3 separate regions of the Homo sapiens genome follow, and all the other regions are linked to region 3. Evidence: promoter capture Hi-C in 16 types of primary human blood cells and fetal thymus (Javierre and others, 2016). All regions are on one chromosome and are shown on one strand. The core of a region is centred on a gene start or on the middle of the fragment in contact, and the rest is flanking DNA. Distances in the headings are between cores, read along the strand shown. Region 1 holds the start of JPT1 (Jupiter microtubule associated homolog 1). Region 2 overlaps NUP85 (nucleoporin 85). Region 3 holds the start of MRPL58 (mitochondrial ribosomal protein L58).

Evidence for each region. The method cuts DNA at HindIII sites, captures the fragments that hold promoters and counts their contacts. A CHiCAGO score of 5 or more calls a contact.
Region 1: the fragment with the promoter of JPT1 here is called in contact with the fragment with the promoter of MRPL58 in region 3 in 1 of 17 cell types (erythroblasts); the score reaches 5.1 in erythroblasts.
Region 2: a contact is called between a fragment that was not itself captured here and the fragment with the promoter of MRPL58 in region 3, in 1 of 17 cell types (endothelial precursors). The highest score is 5.1, in endothelial precursors.

Annotation. Positions count from the first base shown.
Region 1 is chr17:75,153,104-75,156,567 of GRCh38, forward strand. JPT1 (Jupiter microtubule associated homolog 1) reads right to left here and starts at 1,409. Exons shown (of 5, transcript NM_016185.4): 1 at 1,239-1,409. The coding sequence starts at 1,294. RefSeq lists a silencer at 1,005-1,244 and an enhancer at 1,897-2,492. The HindIII fragment of the contact is 22,783 bases long and covers 67-3,464 here.
Region 2 is chr17:75,211,842-75,215,500 of GRCh38, forward strand. NUP85 (nucleoporin 85) reads left to right here. Exons shown (of 19, transcript NM_024844.5): 4 at 151-221; 5 at 1,235-1,278. Among named protein-coding and RNA genes, the nearest start is that of NUP85, 8.0 kb to the left of the region's middle. The HindIII fragment of the contact is 5,491 bases long and covers 1-3,659 here.
Region 3 is chr17:75,011,342-75,014,657 of GRCh38, forward strand. It overlaps MRPL58 (mitochondrial ribosomal protein L58), which reads left to right and starts at 1,329. Exons shown (of 6, transcript NM_001545.3): 1 at 1,329-1,531. The coding sequence starts at 1,346. RefSeq lists enhancers at 957-1,106, 973-1,656, 1,197-1,506, 1,557-1,636, 1,657-2,339 and a silencer at 1,122-1,304. The HindIII fragment of the contact is 1,964 bases long and covers 200-2,163 here.

The sequences.
Region 1 (3,464 bases), core at 159-2,658, 140 kb after region 3:
CGAGGGTAGCCACACATGAATGCAGGTCATAATCGATGTAAAATACATGCTCAAAAAAGTGATTTAAGCTTCTTCCAAGCCTTGAAGAGGATCCCAGACATAACTGTAACCCACCTTAAAGAACAGTGTGCAATTAGCTGAGACAATGTGGACACCTTCCACAGAATCCAAACCCTTCCACCAAGTAAGTTAAGCAAGGACTTGGAAAAGGGTTCCTGTCCAAACACTGTACCCAGTGCCCCAAGCCCAAAAAGCAGTGGGAAGAAGGGCAAGAAAAATCCCCCGCTTCCCAGGTAGCGCTACCACGTTAGAGACAATGGATGTCTCCGGCCCCGCCCAAGAACAAGAAACCTCCTCCTGCAAGGGAACCAGGGCCAGGGATGAACTCACTGGGCAAACGTCAAAGGAGGAAGCGAAGGTAGGATGCAAAGGCCACGGTCCGAAGGTTTAAGCGCAGAAAACCCACTCGGGTTGGCTCGTTCCCCGCGCCCGCCCCCGCCCCCCGCCTTAGAAATGAGCGCAGGGATGGGGAGAAGGGGTCTTTCCTTTGTTAGGAAGGGGAGACACTTGGAAGAGGGGAGGCACTTCGAAGAGGGGAAGAACGATTGGGTCCTCAATGGGGGGTGAAGGGTCGCGATGACCAGCCCCGCTCGACCACACATGCACCTGTCAGGTAGGTCCGAATAAGGAGTGGGGGCACGGCGAGGGTAAGGAGCCCGCCGGACCTGATCGATCCGGTCTCCGGATCCAATGGCTGCGCGCGAGAGCGAGACCAACCGCATGCCACGGGGGAGAGACAGGAGCGCGTGGCCCATCAATGGGACAATAGGACCTGACCATGCATGGGGCCCTAAAGGATCCCCGGGCACCTGGGGGGCCAAGCCCACCACCCTGGGGATGCACCAGCCGGGATGCACACAGGAGAAAGCGAAGCCCTCCCCGAAGGTTCCGATTAACGAAAACCGGCCGTGCTCCGAGGGGCGACCAGCCCCGGCCTCCTCAGCCCCTGACTCCGTGGAAGGAATGAATGGAGAGCAGCAGGGACCCGGGTGGGGCCGGCGCGCAGGGCTCGCCAGGCGGCACAAAGGCGGCGCCGACGGCAGAACCCCGCCACCCGCCCCGGCGCGAGCACAGCGCACGGGGCTCGTTACCCGCAACGACCGGCGCGAGGCCCCGCCGGCAGCGGCCCTCCCAGCCCCTCAGCCCCGCGCGGCTCGGGCGCGACCCGGTCGCCTCACCGGGAGCTATTCCTGCTGTTGGGGTCGACTCCCTTGAAGGTGGTGGTTGTGGTCATGGCGCCGAGGAGCGAGGTAGGCTGGCGCCGGAGCAGAACGCTCAAAGGGTCGGACCCGAGGGGCGCTGGGAAACTCCACACCCAACAGCCGACCACCGCTGCAGGAGCCGCCGCTGCCGCCTGTCCGGCCGATCGACGCCTTTATAGGGTTTTCAACCCCCGCCCCCTAACCCGCCGGCATTGGCCGATTCAAATGAATTCTTTCATTCCTATTGGCTCTCTGGAGTGCCAAGCACCATGCGGCATTACGATGGGCTGTGGCGGCCACGGCTCAGCCTAAGCCCGCCCCCTTCCTGGACTGGGAAGGCCTTGGGACTCTCTCCCCTCCCCCACCCCAAAATCTCGGCGATGATTGGACGGAAGGCGAATCTACCTCGCGCTGGGTGGAAGTCGTGCTGGCTGTCACTGTAAAACGTTACCTGACAGAGGGGGAAGCTCTTTCTTGGGGAGTTACAACCTCGGCAAGCAGAAGGGAGATTTGTCACTGTTACTGTTCTCTCATTTGCTTTACTGATGGTGGGATAGTAAGGGCATCCTCCTTAAAGGATGAAAAGTACTGCAACAAGTTGACATTTATCTGTTGAATACCTACTGTGTGTCCCATTTAGAAACCTAATAGTCTCAAAGCAGCCGCACAATGAGTCAGCAACAGAGAGCGCACCAAGATGATCCCTTTTAAAAGGACTGGAAATTCCTTACATTTTAATGTTACTGTTTAGTTGTAATGGGTGGTGCATGTACTGGACCAAAATTACAGTCGCTCCTATTTGGGGGCCTATTCTAAGGCTGGTTAATGCCTGGCACCAGGAATGGACTCATTCCCTGCTACCAAGACTATGGAAGCAGCTCAGGCCTCTGCAGCTGTTTATAACCCTTAAGTCATGACTCTTCCACCTGTCTGGGTAAATCTATCCATGCGACAAATGCAGACACACTTGGAGGATTCAGGAATGATGGTTTACAAGATCATAATAGGAAAGCCTTGGGCAAAAGAGGGCAGGCCCTTCTCATGTCTTGCATATTTCCTCAAGGCAGATGTCTTTGCTTGTCTCAATATTTCCATAATAATTGAACCACATTCCTCTTTGCAAAGCCACCTTTCAGGTAGTTGGAAGTTTGTATTCTGGGCAGTCTAGGTTAACCACCCTCCCCCCCCGGGCTTTCATGAAAAGCCAGTGAGAAGTTCTGTTCTAGAAAGCACGGATGATGCATTTATGTGCTTACCACAACAGCACGAAGCGCACCACTTGTTTGTGTTAGAATCTTCCCTTCTTTTTTTCCTTTCTTTTTTTTTTTTGTTTTTGAAGTGGAGTTTCGCTCTTGTCACCCAGGCTAGAGTGCAATGGCGCTCAATGCAACCTCCACCTCCCAGGTTCAAGCGATTCTCCTGCCTCAGCCTCCGTAATAGCTGGAACTACAGGCGTGCGCCACCACCCCTGACTAATTTTTGTATTTTTAGTAGAGACGGCGTTTCACCATATTGGCCAGGCTGGTCTCAAACTCCTGACCTCAGGTGATCCATGCTCCTTGGCCTCCCAAAGTGCTGGGATTACAGGTGTAAGCCACCGCATCTAGCCAAAATCTTAGCTTTTTTTTTTTTTTTTTGAGACAGAGTCTTGCTCTGTCGCCCAGGCTGGAGTGCAGTGGTGGCGCGATCTCTGCTCACTTGCAGCCTCCACCTCCCGGGTTCAAGCGATTCTCCTGCCTCAGCCTCCCGAGTAGCTAGGACTACAGGTGCGTGCCATCATGCCCGGCTAATTTTTTGTAGTTTATTAGTAGAGATGGAGTTTCACCATGTTAGCCAGCATGGTCTCAATCTCCTGACCTCGTGATCCACCCACCTTGGCTTCCCAAAGTGCTGGGATTACAGGTGTGAACCACCGCACGCCCAGCCAATCTTCCCATTCTTTCTTTTTTTGTTGTTGTTGTTTTCGTTTTTTTGAGACAGAGTCTCGCTCTGTCGCCCAGGCTGGAGTGCGGTGGCATAATCTCGGTTCACTGCAAGCTCCGCCTCCCGGGTTCACGCCATTCTCCTGCCTCAGCCTCCCAAGTAGCTGGGACTACAGGCGCCCACCACCATGCCTGGCTAATTTTTGTATTTTTAGTAGAGATGGGGTTTCACCGTGTTAGCCAGGATGGTCTAGATCTCCTGACCTCGTGATCCGCCCAC
Region 2 (3,659 bases), core at 278-2,777, 200 kb after region 3:
AGTTGTTCCAGCTTCAGAAGGTTAGGAGCTCCTTCACAACGGCTCTCCTCTTTCTTTCAGCAAATTTCTGCATTTATTTGAGTGTTTCCTTCCTTTGTGGCACTACAAGATGTTCCAGGCTCATCTTGTGTGTTATTTCATTTTTTGTAGATTGGTTCGAGTGAGTAAAAACTACCGATCAGTCATCAGAGCATGTATGGAGGAAATGCACCAGGTTGCAAGTAAGGACTGTGTGCGCGTGCGCGCGTGTGTGTGTGTGTGTGTGTGTGGGTATTTTGAGTATTTATCTATGCATAAATACTGTGAGGTAAAGTTTGATTGATATTCCAGTCCAAAACTTATTTTTCCATCTTTCATAATCCTTACTTTTTTGGTAATCATTTAGAGGTTTTTTTTTTTGTTGTTGTTTTTTTTTTTTTTTTTTTTTTTTTTTTTTTTTTTTTTTGAGACCGAGTGTTGCTCTGTCGCCCAGGCTGAGGTGCTGTGGCATGAACTCAGGTCACTGCAACCTCCACCTCCCAGGTTCAAACGATTCTCTAGCCTCAGCCTCCTGAGTAGCTGGGACTACAGTTGTACACCACCAAGCCCAGAGTTCTGGGATTACAGGAGTCAGCCACTGTGCCTGGAGTTTTTTTTTTTTTTTTTTTTTTTTTTTGAGACAAGGTTGCCCAGGCTGGAGTGCAAAGAAACATTATGGCTCACTGCAGTCATGAGCTCACCGCCTGGGCTCAAGTGATCTTCCTACCTCATCCTTCCAAGTAGTTGGGACTGCAGGTGTGTACTACCATGCCCAGCTAATTTAAACAGTTTTTGTCCAGTTTTCCTCAGAGAACTTTGTTCTGATAATTTTTAAATTATTTGTAGAAACGGGGTCTCCCTAATTTTTCCAGGCTGTTCTTGAACTCCTGGGCTCAAGCAGTCCTTTGACATCAGCCTCCCAAAGTGTCGGGATTACAGGTGTGAGCCACTGTGCTTGGCATGTCAGAGACCTTTATGGTAGCTGTGTTGCAGTTGAAAGTGCCATTTTGTAACTTGAGGGCTTTTGGTTTGAGAATTGAAGGGATATGAAGCATTAACAGCAACAAAAAAATCCATAATTAAAAGAGATTATAATGTCTTTTAATTTTTCTCATTAAAATAAACAGAGGCTCAAGCCATAGACCCTGGAATATTCAGCTATGACAATAAGCCTAAGAGTTCCATTGCTCACTTAAAATGTTTTGTGTTTTGTTAGTTGCTGCTAAAGATCCAGCCAATGGCCGCCAGTTCAGCAGCCAGGTAAGGGGAGTCACCTTTATTGTTTTAGCACCACTGTGTCCTGTGTCCTGGGCACCCACCTGGGGTGGCTTTGCAGTTCCTGTTATGGCAGAAGTCTCTTCTTTTCAGGTAGATAGGCAGCTCCTTTGGGTGACAGTGATTGTCTTGCCCCCTTCAAGGTGTAGCTCACAAGGAAGTGCTTGTTAAATACTTGAGTGAATGTTCGGTTCCTTTTTTTTTTTTTTGAGATGGAGTCTTGCTCTGTCACCCAGGCTGGAGTGCCCTGGGTTCAAGCATTTCTCCTGTCTCAGCCTCCCGAGTAGCTGGGATTATAGGTGCATGCCACACCAAGCCCAGCTACTTTTTGCATTTTTAGTAGAGATGGGGTTTCACCATGTTGGCCAGGCTGGTCTTGAACTTTTGACCTCAAGTGATCCACCCGCCTCGACCTCCCAAAGTGGTGGGATTACAGGTGTAAGCCACCGTGCTGGCCCTGAATGTTCCGTTCTTATGGAACATATATGTCCTGACCAAATTGTGTTGAGGGGTTGTCACCTGAAATGGAGAAGTAATCTTGTGAGATCACTGCTCGGTCTCATAAACACTCCTCACTTCTTGAACTCAACATTTTTTTTTTGAAAGACAGGGTCTCTCTGTGTTGTCAAAGCTGGTCTCGAACTCTTGGGCTCAAGTGATCCTCCTGCCTTGGCCTCCCAAAGTGCTGGGATTATAGGTGTGAGCTGCCACACCTGGCAAAACTCAAGTTTTTTTTTTTTTTTTTTTTTTTTTTTGAGACGGAGTCTCTCTCTGTCGCCCAGGCTGGAATGCAGTGGCGCGATCTCGGCTCACTGCAAGCTCCGCCTCCCAGGTTCATGCCATTCTCCTGCCTCAGCCTCCCGAGTAGCTGGGCTAATTTTTTGTATTTTTAGTAGAGAGGGGGTTTCACCGTGTTAGCCAGGATGCTCTCGATCTCCTGACCTCGTGATCTGCCTGCCTCAGCCTCCCAAAGTGCTGGGATTACAAGTGTGAGCCACTGCGCCCGGCTAAACTCAACATTTTTACTGAGTTGCAAGTGGCTCTACTTTACTTGGAGCTGGAAGATGACTTACAGTATCTTTTTCCTCAGTAGATGCTTCATATTAGATACTTTTCAAAGTCAGTAGTGACTAGGTAGTAATTCACTGTCTCTGAAGTACCCTTATGAACAAGTCATCATGGTGTCTGTGGACTGAAGGATGGTGAGGAAGGGAAGCCTGCGTATTCCTAAGGGCAAGGTCCAGGTCTGATTTATTTCGGGGTCTTATATTGGGCTTTCCCGTTAATAGACTGTTCCCCTAAACTTCAGTCCTTTGAATACCAGCTTCACAATTCTTGCTCTGTCTACGTGTTTCATGTCATCTACTGAATATTCTTCTAAATATTGTCTCTTCTTTTTACTCAAATGAAGCACCTTGCTAAAGCATCAGTTCATCAAGATAGGCTGGGCGCAGTGGCTCACGCCTGTAATCCCAGCACTTTGAGAGGCCGAGGTGGGTGGATCTCTTGAGGTTAGGAGTTCGAAACTAGCCTGGCCAACACGGAAACTCCATCTCTACTAAAAATACAATATTTAGCTAGGCGTGGTGGTGTGCGCCTGTAATCCCAGCCACTTGGGAGGCTGAGGCAGGAGAATTGCTTGAACCCTGGAGGCAGAGGTTGCAGTGAGCCGAGATCATGCCACTGCACTCCAGCCTGACTGACAGAGTGAGACTCTGTCTCAAAAAAAAAAACAAAAAACAAAAACTGAGTGTTGGCAGGGCACGGTGGCTCAAGCCTGTAATCCCAGCACTTTGGGAGGCCGAGGCAGGTGTATCACGAGGTCAGGAGATCGAGACCTTCCTGGCTAACAAGGTGAAACCTCGTCTCTACTAAAAATACAAAAAATTAGCTGGGCATGGTGGCAGGCGCCTGTAATCCCAGCTACTGGGGAGGCTGAGGCAGGAGAATCACTTGAACCCGGGAGGCGGAAGTTGCAGTGAGCCAAGATTATGCCACTGCACTCTAGCTTGGGCAGCAAGAGCCAAACTCCATCTCAAAAGATAAATAAATAATAACTGGTGACATGCAAGTTATATTTTTTCTTTTTTTAAATTTTGAGACAAGGTCTCGCTCTTGCCCAGGCTGGAATAGTGGCACGATTATGGCTCACTCAGACTCAACTTCCTGGGCTCAAGTGATGCTCCCACCTCAGCCTCCTGAGTAGCTGAGACTGCGGGGATATGTCACTACACTTGGCCAATTTTTATATTTTTTGTTGAGACAGGATCTTGCCATGTTGCTCAAGCTGGTCTCAAACTCCTAGACTCAAGCATTCCACCTGCCTTGGCCTCCCAAAGTGCTGGGATTACAGGAATGAGCCACTG
Region 3 (3,316 bases), core at 79-2,578:
GAGATGCGTCTATTCCCTTTGAGGTCTTGGGACTAAGTCAAACAGCGCGGGACCCAGGAGACTCTCCTCCCAACCCGAGATAGAGCCCGAGATATGTCAATTGTCACCCCTTTCTAGTCTGAGCTTATAAAGCCAGTGCTTAGAAAGTGGTTTATTCCTTCTTAAAGATTTGCTGTAGCCATAATGCGGAGATGGTAAAAGCTTGGTGTGATGACAATCTCCTGTTTCAATCAGCCAGCATCCCCGGGGGCACATTTTTCTAGATAATTATGCTTGTTCCTAAAAATAGAACTCTTCATTAAGAAACAATCGCTAGCATTACTAATAATTATGAACATTTATTTAGCTTTGTTTCCATTTACCACATAGCCTCTCAACACAGTAACTTAACTAAGGTTTAGCTGTTTTCAAACACTGCTTGCTCTACTGTGAACCTTTTTCAGAATTGGAACTTGTCTGTAGTTCATCCCTTACCAGCGCTATGAAAGGGTTCTAGTTAGCTGGCAGTTCTCTGAATTCTCTCCCTACCTCCCGAGGGACCCCCTCTCTCCTGGCTGGAAGAAAGCATCATCTTGCTCCATAAAGCTGAAGGGCGGGGGACGATGTTCCAGGTTTTGCAAACATTTCTTTCGGTGGCCTGCCTTCTCCTCCCATCTGGTATTTGTCCTGCAGAGCTGCTGGGTATAAGCCAGTACACACACGTGCTCAGCGGGGAATTTGCTCATAGGCTGCCTTGTAAAAAGAGCCTGGCGTTCCTAAAACTCAGCTCTACCAGAACCCAACTTTCAAAAGTACATTCCTACAGAATTCATTTTATCAGTACTCATGGGGTGCCCACGATGTGCCATGTTCTGGGTGCTGGGGATATACCAGTGAGCCGGTGCCCTCCTGGAGCTCACATTCCGGCTAGGAGACAGCAATTAGACAATTAGGACTGAGTGATTTTTGTAAAGGAAGAGAAAAAAGATAAATTAGAGCAGAGTAAAGGGGCTGGGAAGCGCGGGGCGGGAGATGCCCCAGGCTGGCCGGGCAGGCCTCGCTGCTGTTTGAATTGGGCAGTGGGCGGTCCAGGCGGAGGGCACGGACTCTGAAAGGAGAGAAGTGGTGTTTCTGGGGGCCACAAGATCGGGGCACTCTTCCGGTAGCAGCTCGCTCTCTGGCCACCGTCTTCCCCAGCCAACCAGGCCTCCCGGAGGCGGCCGGCCAGAAAGCATCGGCGGGACCCCAGTTTGCCGCCTCCCCTCGGCGGGACCTAGAAACTGCGCGGAACCAAAGCTCGAGGGCGGCTCGAGTTTGCGGACCGCGGGGAGGAAGCGCCCGCCGGAAGCAGTCGCAAGACCTGAGCATGGCGGCCACCAGGTGCCTGCGCTGGGGCCTGAGCCGAGCCGGAGTCTGGCTGCTCCCACCGCCCGCACGGTGCCCACGCCGGGCGCTGCACAAGCAGAAAGACGGCACTGAGTTCAAGAGCATCTACAGCCTGGACAAGCTCTACCCCGAATCTCAGGGCTCGGACACCGCCTGGAGGGTCCCGGTGAGCCGGGAAGGACTGGACGGAAGGGGCGTTTTGTCAGGCTGCTGGGTGACGTTAGGAACCCCAGGCCCATTGGCCGGATGTGGAGCTACGTCGGGGGGCTACGTGATGGTCGCCGCGGGAGGGGGCTGGCTGTCTGCGCTAACCTGGCCGGGAGTGGGGTGCTCGCTGTAGCGCGAGATGTGCAGGAGCCCGGAAGGCCGGCTGGGTATGCTTCTTTCAAGGCTGCCAGCTTTTCTACGTTCGTGTCCTTGGCCCTCAAGACCAAATTCCAGTCCCAAGGGGAAATACGGGCATTCTGGCCCTCCAAGGCGGACAATAAAGGCAAGAGGCTGCCAAGTTGTTTGCTACCCTTTGGGACGTTACAGTGTCCATTGTCTCTAGTAACCCCAGGACGCGCGAATAAAACAGCTTCTCTGTCGTTCCTTCAGGATGCATTTATTTAGCCAGCTGTGTGCAGGCATTGAATCAAGCCCCGGAGCAAGAGAGATAAGACCCACCCAAACCCATTGAGCTTCCACTTACAGGACTGGAAAAGAATATCCATTCATTTGTTCATTAATTCACTCACTCACTCAACAAAAGCTGTGCTAGGCTAGGGGATGGAGTAGCAAACAAAATTGAAATTCTAAAGCTTGTGGAGCTTATGTTCTAGTGGAGGGAGACAAGCAGTAAGTAAATGACTAATATAGAATGTGTGAGGTAGTACTTTGCAGAAAATAAAGCCAAGAAGGAAGAAGTAGTGCCAGAGGTAGGAAGTAGGGTTGCAATTTTAAGTAGGATTGTCTAGGAACGCTGTCAATGAGGTGGCATTTGAATAACGACCTGGAAGAAGCCAGACAGCAAGTCATGAGAATAGGGGGCGGATGAGCATCCTAGGCAGAGGGAAGAGAAAGTGCAATAACCTGAAGGCAGTAGCAATCCCCAGGTGTGGCTCAGCAGGGGTCAGGAGACAAAGCCAAAGAGAGGGATGGCTGGGGAAAGGCCTGTTACTAGGACTTAATGGCCTCCAGCCTTTCCTCTGAACGCAAGGGAGACCTATTGGAGAGCTTGAAGCAGAATGGAATTATCTTAGTTTTACAAGGATCACTCAGAGAGCCTTACAGAGAACAGATAGAGGATGCCAAGATCAGGGAGACAAGTAAGGAGATTGCAATGTAGGGCAAGAGATGATAAGCAGGGTGGAAGCAGTAGGAGTCATGAGAATTGGTCAGATCCTAGACGTATTTTGGAAAGAAAGCCTGCAAGATTTGCTAATTGATTGGATGTGAGAAGTGAGAATAAAAGAGGAATTGAAGTCTGGGGCCTTTTTTTTTTTTTTTTTTTTTTTTGAGACGGAGTCTCACTCTGTCGCCCAGGCTGGAGTGCAGTGATGCAATCTCTGTTCACTGCAAGCTCCGCCTCCCGGGTTCACGCCATTCTCCTGCCTCAGTCTCCTGAGTAGCTGGGACTACAGGCGCCCACCACTACAACCGGCTAATTTTTTTTTTTTTTTTTTTTAGTAGAGAGGGGGTTTCACCGTATTAGCCAGGTTGGTCTTGATCACGGGCGTGAGCCACCGCGCCAGGCTTTTTTTTTTTTTTTTTTTTGAGACAGGGTCTTACTCTGTCATCCAGGCTGGAGTGCAGTGGCGTGATCTCAGCCCACTGCAACCTCCGCCTCCTGGGTTCAAGTGATTCTTGTGCCTCAGCCTCCCGAGTAGCTGGGATTACAGGCATGCACCACCATGCCCGACTCATATTTTTGCATTTTTAGTAGAGACAGGGTTTTCACCATGTTGGCCAG